Linked DNA regions of Homo sapiens: all the other regions are linked to region 3. Evidence: promoter capture Hi-C in 16 types of primary human blood cells and fetal thymus (Javierre and others, 2016). All regions are on one chromosome and are shown on one strand. Each heading gives the region's core, a stretch centred on a gene start or on the middle of the fragment in contact. The rest is flanking DNA. Distances are from core to core; before and after follow the strand shown. Region 1 holds the start of ABHD16B (abhydrolase domain containing 16B). Region 2 holds the start of MIR647 (microRNA 647). Region 3 holds the start of HELZ2 (helicase with zinc finger 2). Region 4 overlaps TPD52L2 (TPD52 like 2).

Region 1 (2,700 bases), core at 97-2,596, 290 kb before region 3:
GCCGCCGCGAGCTCAGGCCCTGGCCCACCAGCCATGGGAAGGCGGGTCCGTGTGGCCCCAGGGCCTCCTCGCCCTCCAGCTCCTCTTCGCAGCGTGCACGGTAGGAGCGCAGCAGCGCCAGGCACCAGTCCTCGTCCACGCGGTAGCGTGCATAGAAGGCGGCCTCCTGCGCCAAGCTGCCAGCGCGCAGCCAGCGGGTGACGACGGCGCGGCCCTCTCGCGCCATCACGACGGGGTAGCGGTGCTCCAGCAGGCGCAGCAGCAGCTCATTGCCCCGGTTGCCCTCCACGTCACCAGGTGACAGGGGGCGCAGGCGGCCCGAAGTGCTGACCACGTCATCCTGCGTGCGTCGGAGCAGCAGCACCGGCCCCGGGTAGCAGCACAGCTGCTCGGCCACGTTGAGGTTGAAGTGCTCGCGCACGGTGCGCACCACCAGCCCCTTCCAACTGTGGGGCATGACCTTCAGCGCCAGCGGCACAAGGTCGTCGAAGGTGGCGTCCAGCACCAGTGCACCCAGCTCCGGGTAGGTCATGGTGGCCCAGGTGGCCGTGAAGCCGCCAACAGACCAGCCGTAGACCACCAGGTGCGCGGGCGGGAAGTGCAGGCGGTGCAGTGCGTACTCGACCACCACGTCCATGGCGTTGGCGTCGTGCTGAGGGAAGGGCACGCCAGTGCTGCTGCCGAAGCCGGGGTGGTTCCAGCCCAGCACGGAGTAGCCGGCCTCGAGCGGTGCAGACAGACAGCCCATCTCGTAGAAGCCCGCGTTGCCTTCGCAGCAGATGACGAGGCGCGGCCCGTGCACGTGGCTGCCCGGGTGCTGGCGGCGGTCCATGAACATAGTGTCGATCTCGTTGCCGTCACAGGCCACCAGCTTGGCGCGCCGGCCGTGGTAGCGCTCCACGAGGCGCTCTTGGCCCTGCTGCAGCAGCGGCAGCAGCGCGCGCGTCATCAGGGACACGGAGCCGGGGTACACGAGCCAGCGGCCCAGCGAGTGGGCCAGCGCGTAGCTAGCGAGCTGGCCGGGCAGCTCGCGGAGCTGCTGCAAGAGGCACTGCGCCTGGCTGCGCGCCCCACGTGGAGGCCGCCCCAGCGCATCCCCGCCCAGCGTCTCGTCCCGCAGCAACCACACGCCCGCCGCGGCTGCCGCGCAGGTCAGCGCCCGGTGGCTGCTGCTCCGGCCCACGGCGCGCACGTCATCCCAGCGGAAGGCCACGGGCCAGCCGCGGAATGGGTAGGTGTAGCTGGCGGTCAGGTAGATCTTGAACACGCGCACCAGCGCCTTCACGAAGCAGATGACGCACATGAGCGGTGGCCCTAACGCCCAGCCGCTGGGCCGGGATCGCCGCGAGAGGCACAGGGCAGTCTTAGGGGATACCGGCTCCCGGACAAGCCCTGATGGCCTTTGTGACCTGGCCTTCCAGGGCGGAGGGAAGGCTGCATCCTGTTGCTAGGTGATGGGTGCACAAAGGGTTCCCAGAGATGATGAACCCAAGGTTCTGCCCGTCCCCCGCCTTCGCCAAGACCCCACCAGCTAAACGCTCCCAGGCCCAGCTTTCCCACCCATGATTTGAGCAGCTACTGTCTCCCTCTTTCTTCCTTATTTATTTATTAAATTGAGATGGGGTCTCACTATGCTGCCTAGGCTGGTCTTGAACCCCTGGGCTCAAGCGATCCTCCCGCCTCCACCTCCCACAGTGTTGGGATTACAGGTGTGAGTCCCTGCACCCCGCCTCCACCTCCCACAGTGTTGGGATTACAGGTGTGAGTCCCTGCACCCCGCCTCCCTCTTCCTTAAATTTAAGATGGACAGCCCCACGGGCCAAAAAGGGACAGCAAGGCCTCCTCCGCCTGTACCAGGCTTGCTGTGGGTCCTGCAAGTTTCCCTTCAGGGTCTGCTGGTTTAAACCTCATCTCCCCAGGACGGCCGGGGTCAGAGACAGGGCTGCTGCTGCACCAAAAAGGCGGTATTTGCTCTCGGCCCGGCCCCTCCTCTCCACACCTTCCTTCTTCGGTGCTGACCAGAAACAAGCCCTCTCCTTTTCTGGATCCTCTTTTCACTGGCTGCCAGCAACAGCAGTGACCTTCTGGGGCGGGTCCTGCCTGGCTGGGGTTCCTCTTTCTCGCTCCTGGGTCGAGCCCCCACTCCCAGGCTGCGCCTCCCTCTTTTCTGGAGAGGTATCTTTTCTCCTGCCCTGGAAAGGGCCAGCCCACCTGAGGGCAGGGTCGGAAGCCGCCTGCCAGGAGGAGCCCCAGGGAAGAGGGCAGCTCCAGGTACTCAACAGCTCCCCAGACCAGAAACAAACATGCTACAATCAGGGAGTTTGGCAAATCCAGCCAGAGCCTCTGAGCCCAGGTGCCAGGCCCGCCTGGGACCCCAGCCTTCTGGGGAAGGGGTAGTTTCAGGCTGAAGCACCCCCTCTCTGCTCTCCTGCTCAGCGTCTGGGTTAGAGGCACTGCCTGACCCTAACAGGCCCCGCCCCTAGTTGGGGGAGTCAGCTGCTGCCTTTAGGGGTTGGGGGACAGAAGACAGGGACCAATTAACAAAGGGAGCGATTTGGGGGGCTATTACCCCCATTCTAGGTTGCCAGATAAAATACAGAATAATATGCCAGTTAAATTGGAATTACAAATAAACAAATACTTTTTGGGTATAAGTATGTTCCAACTTCTGCTTGAGACATTATTTTAAAATTGTTTATC
Region 2 (2,700 bases), core at 3-2,502, 370 kb before region 3:
CCCGTTGTGCTGTGCAGGGCCTGGGTTCCCTGAGGAAGCTGGGGTGGGGGTACAGGTGCTCAGGACCCAGCCGAGGGTGCAGCCCGCTCAGCACACCCAGCCTGAGCTTTTGGGAAGACAGGCATGACCTGCTGGCCCAGGATTGTGGGGTTTCACTGCTGAGTCCCACGCCAGGCCAGGCTCCTCTCTTTCTCAGGGGGTCACCCCAGGAGCGACACCCCCACCAGAGGTCCCCTGCTCCCTGAGGCATTCTATGGCTGGGCCTTGGAGCCTGAGTGGCTCTGAACACACTCCCTACCAGGATGTTGAAGGCCTGAGGCCTGCAGAACAGAGCCCAGGGTCCTGGCTCTGATTGCCCCAACGCAGAACTGCAGGTCTGGCCCAGGTGGTCCCCAGGTTACAGGCATTAGAAGCTTGCCACCCCCCATGGCTGGCTGTGTCCCCGCGGGCCTGCAGCATGTCCATTCCTGGGTGGGGGTGGCCTGGCCGCCTGCCCTGGTCACTGACGCGCCACCGTTCCCTTGTGTCTTCCTGTGTTGCTGCCACAGCGTGAACTCAGCGTCAGGTAAGACTTGCACAGCTGTCTGCACAGATGGAGGCACTTCCAACACCTCCAAGGAGCTCTGGGGTCTGGGCTGTGATCCAGCCAGGCAGCTGGCTCTTCCCCAGTCACAGAAGGGGTGGTGTGGAGTGGTCCCAGCCCTGCTTCTGCCTCCCCTTGCTGGCAGATGAGGACACTGAGGCACAGAGACGTGAAGTAGCTTGCCCAGCGTCACGGAGTCCTGACCCTGTCCTGGCCAGACTTTGCTGGAGGCTCCCCTGACTCCTGAGTCTGTCTATGGGATTTGACCCCAGAGAGCACAGCTGTCCTCCTGAGCCAGCACTGCCAGGCCTCTGGGGCAGTGACTACAGACATGTCCCAGCAGCCAGGGAGCCTGCTGTACCTCCTGTGCCCAGCCTCACGGACCAGTCAGCTTTCCCTGGTTGCAGGTGGAGGGCCTCGCGCCTGTCCTCCCACCCACCCGGGTCCTGCTTGCCCCAGCTCTGTCCTCGCAGCCCGCACAGCTCTGCCAGCAGGAACTGGGCAACTGCAGCAAGAAGCTTGGGCTGGGCCGGGGCCGCATCCCACTGTCCCTCCCCAAGGGCAGGCATGCAGGGGGGTCAGCCACAAGGGACCTGCCCTTCTCCCTGCCTTCTGTGGGTTGGGAGGCTCCTGACTGAGCCACCTGGAGGGAGAGCCCTCACATTCAGAGCCCTCCAAAGAGTTTGCCAAATGTTGGAAATGCCTCCAGGGCCCGTCCACCAGCCGTCCAGCTTCCGGTGCCTGCATGAGTCTCCGCTTGGCCCTCTCCTCGGCCTAGGAACCCGCAGGTCTTGTCCCGTCAGGTTCCTCCTGAAGCTTTTGTTCTGAGAGGAAAAACTTTCCAGGGTTTCAAACTTGGAAAAACACCTGAACGCAGCCAGACACATTTTCCGTCGTCTGGTCAGCCAAGGAAGTGTTGGCCTGTGGCTGCACTCACTTCCTTCAGCCCCAGGAAGCCTTGGTCGGGGGCAGGAGGGAGGGTCAGGCAGGGCTGGGGGCCTGACCGCCCACACTCCTCCTCAGGCCTGCGGGGAACGCCCTGCTCCCCAACTAAGCAGCCTTCTCTTTGTTCTCTTCCTTCTCTCTGTAAACCCCCGTTTCCTGCCTTGTTCCCTCCCTGAACATGCTCTTCACCTGGCAAGCAGAGGAAGCTACGTTGGGATATGTGAGCAGTGTGCTCCGTGGTGCTGCTGTGTGACCCGCCTTCCCGTAGCCCCTTGCCCCGCTGCTCCCGCTAGGCCCTCTTTCCTGCTCCTGCCCCGCCCCTTTCCCTGCCGCTGTCACGCCTCTTTTCTGCCCTGCCACACCCCATTTCCGGCCCCGCCCCTTTCCCTGCCGCTGTCACGCCTCTTTTCTGCCCTGCCACACCCCATTCCCGGCCCCGCCCCTTTCCCTGCCGCTGTCACGCCTCTTTTCTGCCCTGCCACACCCCATTCCCGGCCCCGCCCCTTTCCCTGCCGCTGTCACGCCTCTTTTCTGCCCTGCCACACCCCATTCCCGGCCCCGCCCCTTTCCCTGCCGCTGTCACGCCTCTTTTCTGCCCTGCCACACCCCATTCCCGGCCCCGCCCCTTTCCCTGCCGCTGTCACGCCTCTTTTCTGCCCTGCCACACCCCATTCCCGGCCCCGCCCCTTTCCCTGCCGCTGTCACGCCTCTTTTCTGCCCTGCCACACCCAATTCCGTGCCCTGCCTCTTTCCTTCCCCTGCCACACCCAATTCTGTGGCCTGTCGCTTTCCTCTTCCTGCCCCTGCATCACCCCCTTTCCTGCCCCGCCCCATTCCCTGCCCCTGTCATGCCCCTTTCCGGCTTTGCCTCCTCCCTGTCCCACCTCTTTCTTGCCTCCACCCCGCCCTTTTCCTGCCCGCTCCTAGACCTGCTGCTGCCCCGGCCATCCCCAGGCTTGGGCAGCGGGGCGGGACGGGACAGCCAAGAGACACTGAGCCAGCTTTGCCCCCCACCCCCCTCTCTTGAGGGGCCGCGCACCACCTCGGGGAGGAGCCAGGGCGGGGCCTGACCCCACAAAGCTTTAGTTCCCCCGGGGAGAGGCTGGGGACAAGCTACCCATTCTGGGGTATGACACCTATCAGCACGTGTGAGCCCGCCCTGTGCCCGGCCC
Region 3 (2,700 bases), core at 83-2,582:
AAAAAAAAAAAAGCCCTGTCCAGCCTTTCTTGGTGATGTGATGCTTTTCCAAATGGACTTGAAAGTCAGTGTGTCCACCATGCGACTGCAGGTTAGTTTAGGAGGAACTCACGTCTTTGTGTGGTGTTGAGCCTCTCCATCCAGGAACACAGCGTTCCACACAAATTCTCCCAGCGTTCCACGCACATGGACCCTGCTCAGCGCCCGGCCCCTGGGGCTGCTATTGTCGAGGGCCTGCCCTCTCCCAGGAGCTCCAACGTGATTGGTCTGCGGAGAGGCTCCCTGGTGGTTGACGGCCCACCCAGCCGACCTCCCGAGGTCGCTGTGAGCCCCCAGCCTGGCCCTCCCCACGAGGTGCTGGCCTTGGGTGGCAGCCTTGCTTCCTTGTTTCAGGGGCAGCATCACTGTCCGTTATCTACTGCTGCAGAACAGATCGCCCCAAAGCTCAGGGGCTTAAAACAACACAGATGTTTATTTTATTTATTTATTTGTTTTGAGATGGAGTCTTGCTCTGTTGCCCAGGCTGGAGTGCAGTGGCGCAATCTTGGCGCACTGCAACCTCCACTTCCTTGGTTCAAGCAATGCTTCTGCCTCAGCCTCCCGAGTAACTGGGACTACAGGCGCCCGCCCCCACCCCTGGCTAATGGGACGTTTATTTTAAACATAGACATCTAACAGCTGGGCGTGGTCTAGGTGGGAGGGTTAGGCCTGGGGTCTCCCTGAGATGGCAGTAAGGCTGGGGCTGGGACTCGAGCTGCAAGTGGGCTGGAGGCCTCAGCTCCTCTATGGGGCCTCCCCACAGGGCTGCTGAGGGCCCAGAGCCAGTCCAGAGAGCCAAGAGCCAGGCGTGCTGACTCTGGGACCCGGCGGCCACTTAGCCATTCCTGCCATATCCTGGTTGGTGACAGAAGGGACTTGGGGTCCCAGCAGCACCAGGGCCACGGGCAGGTCCTGCCTGTCAGGGGACCCAGGCTTCCAGGTCAGCTGTGCCTGGATTTCTCCAGGGGCTGATGGTGGAGTCACCAGACCATCCTGCCGTCCAGGGCCGGGCAGGGTCTCACCCCTTCCGCCTGGCACATCATCGGGGCGTCTCTGGTGTGTGAAGGGCTGGACGGGGCGTGGGGCCCTGGAGGGGTGCGGGAAAGGACCCCCACCCCCAGCCGCCTCCGCCTTCGACGGCGCTGGCCCTTCAGGGAGGGGCGTCCTCTGCTCGCTGGCGCTTCCCGAGGTTCCCTCGCAGCGGGGGCCGAGCTGTCGCTGGAGGCGGGGCAGGGCGGGGCGGGGCGGGGGGCGGTGAGGTAATTTCCGCGATCAGCGTCAGTGCCCGGGCCAGAATCGAAACTGAGAGCTCCTGGGCAGGCTCGGCAGGGCAGGCAGCTCCAGGAGGGTGAGCGCGGGGGTCCCAGGGCGGAGGGGCGGGGGCGCGGGGGTCCAGGGGCGGCTCCAGGAGGGTGAGCGCGGGGGTCCCAGGGTGGCGGGGCCGGGGGCGGAGGGGGGGGTCCGGGAGGGTGAGTGCAGCCGGGGGCGCGGAGTCCCGGGAGCCACAGACCCAGCCCGGGGCAGTGCAGCCCGTCCAGGACCAGCACCCTCCGCAGCAAGACCCAGCGCTGTGGTCTCTGCACCCACTGGAGCGCAGGATTTTGGGGTCTCGGCTCCCGTCCTTTCTGGATGGCAGACTCGGATGTTTTCTCAGAGGGGTCCGCGGGGAGTGCCGGGTTCTCATACTGAAGTCTGCCTCCAGTCTGTTGCTTTTAAACTTACTCTTCTTGTAGCATCCCAGCTGCGGTGGGGACCCGGGGACCCATCTCTTCCTGGCACCCTGAGCTCTGGTGGGCACTGTACCCTCCTCTCCGTGAGGCCCCTCCCCAGGTGCAGATGTGGAGTCCTCTTTTCCTGGGGGCCAGTGGTCATTCAATAGAAAAGGAGGTGCTGTGTCCTTAGAAGAGTCAGGAGCCTGAGGCCCTGGGGTGCACAGGACCCCTGGCTGGGGCAGAGGGGTGCGGCCTCCTGGGGGCGGCACTGTGCCAAGGGCTCTGCCCCCTCCAGGGCTCCACAAGCAGTCACCTTGGCTCCTTCTAGGTGGGGCCTGAGACCCTTCAGGAGGGAGGGTCTGGCTGTGTCCGGGTCAGTGAGCCCTGTACTCCCTGACAGGACACAGCTACTGCCAAGGCCTCCACTTGGGCGTCAGGGTGGGGAGAGTCCCAACTCCTTGCTTGGTGGAGAGGCCTCTGCTTGGGCATCAGGATAGGCAGATCCCCAGCTCCTTGCCTGGTGGAGAGGCCGTGCTTCTGAGCTGGGCCTGGACCAGATGTCCTCTGGCCTCAGTCTCACCTGCTCCTTCTGTCGCAGGCTTCGAACCGTGGCCAACAGTTCCAGTGGACTGCGTGGACCCGTGAGCTCAGGAGCCTCAGACGCCTCCCTGGAGAGCCAAGCTGGTGTTCGAGGTGGCGCCTCCAGGGTCCACCCTGCTGCCCAACAGCCCCGCGGCCACCAGAGGGCCGTCCCTGGCCCGGCTGTGTGCCCTGGTGGACCTGTGTCTGGGCTGCTCCCGCTGCACCCAGCGGCTCAATGAAAGCACCTACGTCCTCCGTAGGGTGGAGCATGACTGCTCCCGCGAGATCCTGCTGGCCCGCTTTAAGCAGGCCACCAAGAGCAAGGTCTGGCGCGTGGTGGGCTGCCGGCCCACCTTCCCAAGGCCCC
Region 4 (2,700 bases), core at 106-2,605, 310 kb before region 3:
TTTTTGTATTTTTGGTACAGACGGAGTTTCACCGTGTTAGCCAGGATGGTCTCGATCTCCTGACCTCGTGATCCGCCTGCCTCAGCCTCCAAAAGTGTTGGGATTACAGGTGTGAGCCACCGTGCCCAGCCCAAAAATACAAATTCTGAAGACATCTTTAACCTTGATTTTCCCTGAAATAACAAATGCATAAAACCATGTGAACATTCTGTGGTTCGCTGAAGCAAAGTCACCTGCAGCAGAGGATTCTAAAGCGCTCACAGCACCTGCATTTGTGCCTAAAGAGTGGGGATGGGGAAGCTGCACCTGCATTTGTGCCCTAAGAGTGGGGATGGGGAAGCTGCACCTGCATTTGTGCCTAAAGAGTGGGGATGGGGAAGCTGCACCTGCATTTGTGCCCTAAGAGTGGGGATGGGGAAGCTGCACCTGCATTTGTGCCTAAAGAGTGGGGATGGGGAAGCTGCACCTGCATTTGTGCCCTAAGAGTGGGGATGGGGAAGCTGCACCTGCATTTGTGCCCTAAGAGTGGGGATGGGGAAGCTGCACCTGCATTTGTGCCTAAAGAGTGGGGATGGGGAAGCTGCACCTGCATTTGTGCCCTAAGAGTGGGGATGGGAAAGCTGCACCTGCATTTGTGCCTAAAGAGTGGGGATGGGGAAGCTGCACCTGCATTTGTGCCTAAAGAGTGGGGATGGGGAAGCTGCACCTGCATTTGTGCCCTAAGAGTGGGGATGGGGAAGCTGCACCTGCATTTGTGCCTAAAGAGTGGGGATGGGGAAGCTGCACCTGCATTTGTGCCTAAAGAGTGGGGATGGGGAAGCTGCACCTGCATTTGTGCCCTAAGAGTGGGGATGGGGAAGCTGCACCTGCATTTGTGCCCTAAGAGTGGGGATGGGGAAGCTGCACCTGCATTTGTGCCCTAAGAGTGGGGATGGGAAAGCTGCACCTGCATTTGTGCCCTAAGAGTGGGGATGGGAAAGCTGCACCTGCATTTGTGCCTAAAGAGTGGGGATGGGGAAGCTGCACCTGCATTTGTGCCCTAAGAGTGGGGATGGGGAAGCTGCACCTGCATTTGTGCCCTAAGAGTGGGGATGGGGAAGCTACACCTGCATTTGTGCCTAAAGAGTGGGCATGGGGAAGCTACACCTGCATTTGTGCCCTAAGAGTGGGGATGGGGAAACCGAAGTTGGAGAGAAAACAACCGCCTGTGCCCGGCCTTCAGAATGAGATGTGGGGTCCTGAGCGTGACCTGTGGGTGGGTAAGTACCACCCACACAAGGAGGATCGGAATGAGATGCGGGTCCTGAGCGTGACCTGTGGGTGGGTAAATGCCACCCACACAAGGAGGAGGGTCCTGAGGGTTCCTGGCCACTGACCACTGGCCACTGACACCCGGTGCCACTGTGATCAGTCCCTGCTGTGCCATAAACCACACTCAAGCCCCTGGGGGCCCCACAGCCCTCAGCATTGCTCGGGTGTGGAAATGAGGGGGTCACAAGGGAACCTCCTCTAGAAACAGGAACCTCCAAACTGGGATGGCCCTGGAAACAATGGGCATCACCTGCATAGCCTGAGGCCACCACCAGCGCCTCCCTGGCCTTCTCTTCCTACAGCAGGTCCCTGCCCAACAGCTGTGGCTCTGACCTCTCCCTTCCCCTTCTCAGTCCCATCCTGGGCCTCCAAGGTGGCGGCAGCAGCTGTGAGGCCCCCTTCCAAGGCTCACAGCGCTGCAGGCCTGTTCTGAGAGCGTCAAACACACAGGCACACACATTCCTCAGTGGACCAGAAGGCTGGGTTGTTATTACTCCATGACAGATGGGGAAGCTGAGCCCGGGAGGAAGGGGCAGGGGTCAGAGCCAGCATCTGCACCCAATAACTAGCTTCAGCTCTCCTTGAGAGCACCGGGCCGGGCAACCCCAGCCAGCACCCATTTGGGAGTTCCTAAGACCTTCTAGGAAGAGAGCCCTGGACAGACAGCGGTTTCGTCCCACTGCCAGTGAGCTGTCCCCTGGGCAGCACAGGGCATCTGGGGGACATCCTTGCACTCCCCCTCTCCTGAGTCTGTCTCTGGGGGCTGCCCCCACTCCCACTCAGGATGGACAAGTGATCCAGGCCTGGCCAGAGCACACCACCTCCAAGGCCGCAGCCATTAGTCCAGGGAGACCCATATGGGGCCACACTGTTGGGCTGCAGCAGTGGGGGCAGGGACTTCTCTGCCTGGTGAGTGCTCCCACCTCCCTGTTTGGTTGATGCTACCTTGAGTCGTGCTTTCTGTCACCTGCAACCAAAACAACTCCAAGTGAACCAGCTCATAACTGCAGGATCTATATGATGCCCCTCTCAGCACTGAGGTTTTTAGTTACCTCTGCCTATAAATAGAATGCAACAGGCAATTGTTTCACCACTCGCAGAACACAGCTGCTCTCGCATTCAGACATGACCCACTGAGAATGTGGCCGCATTGCAGCCTCATGGGGCCAGGCACCAGTGCTATCCTCCACCCACCGGCCACGTTCTCCTTCCCGTCCATCCTCCAGGGCGCCAATAGCTGAAAGGATCTACAAACACGTGGGTCAGGATGCAGGGAGCTTTTACTGCCTTCCCCTGCAGAGCTCTGGGCAGTGGAGGTACATCTACAGCCCATCTCCTGAAGCTGACTAGGAGAGGCACCAGCCAGGAAGAGCACGCGCCATGGCCACA

Evidence for each region. The method cuts DNA at HindIII sites, captures the fragments that hold promoters and counts their contacts. A CHiCAGO score of 5 or more calls a contact.
Region 1: a contact is called between the fragment with the promoter of ABHD16B here and the fragment with the promoter of HELZ2 in region 3, in 3 of 17 cell types (M1 macrophages, non-activated CD4 T cells and neutrophils). The highest score is 7.3, in M1 macrophages.
Region 2: a fragment that was not itself captured here is called in contact with the fragment with the promoter of HELZ2 in region 3 in 1 of 17 cell types (monocytes); the score reaches 5.2 in monocytes.
Region 4: a contact is called between a fragment that was not itself captured here and the fragment with the promoter of HELZ2 in region 3, in 2 of 17 cell types (naive CD4 T cells and M1 macrophages). The highest score is 5.9, in naive CD4 T cells.

The regions. Positions count from the first base shown.
Region 1 is chr20:63,860,144-63,862,843 of GRCh38, reverse strand. ABHD16B (abhydrolase domain containing 16B) reads right to left here and starts at 1,346. Exons shown (of 1, transcript NM_080622.4): 1 at 1-1,346. The coding sequence starts at 1,303. It overlaps ABHD16B-AS1 (ABHD16B antisense RNA 1), which reads left to right. Exons shown (of 2, transcript NR_165314.1): 2 at 1-1,629. The HindIII fragment of the contact is 10,144 bases long and covers 1-2,700 here.
Region 2 is chr20:63,941,518-63,944,217 of GRCh38, reverse strand. It overlaps UCKL1 (uridine-cytidine kinase 1 like 1), which reads left to right. Exons shown (of 15, transcript NM_017859.4): 8 at 549-565. It overlaps MIR647 (microRNA 647), which reads left to right and starts at 1,492; the gene lies at 1,492-1,587. It overlaps MIR1914 (microRNA 1914), which reads left to right and starts at 2,674; the gene lies at 2,674-2,700. RefSeq lists enhancers at 475-1,186, 1,187-1,900. The HindIII fragment of the contact is 298 bases long and covers 1,104-1,401 here.
Region 3 is chr20:63,572,871-63,575,570 of GRCh38, reverse strand. HELZ2 (helicase with zinc finger 2) reads left to right here and starts at 1,332. Exons shown (of 20, transcript NM_001037335.2): 1 at 1,332-1,387; 2 at 2,350-2,700. RefSeq lists an enhancer at 496-1,223 and silencers at 1,008-1,287, 1,928-1,987. The HindIII fragment of the contact is 21,413 bases long and covers 1-2,700 here.
Region 4 is chr20:63,878,040-63,880,739 of GRCh38, reverse strand. The region is part of intron 4 of TPD52L2 (TPD52 like 2); the gene reads right to left. Among named protein-coding and RNA genes, the nearest start is that of TPD52L2, 14 kb to the right of the region's middle. RefSeq lists an enhancer at 2,402-2,571. The HindIII fragment of the contact is 6,839 bases long and covers 1-2,700 here.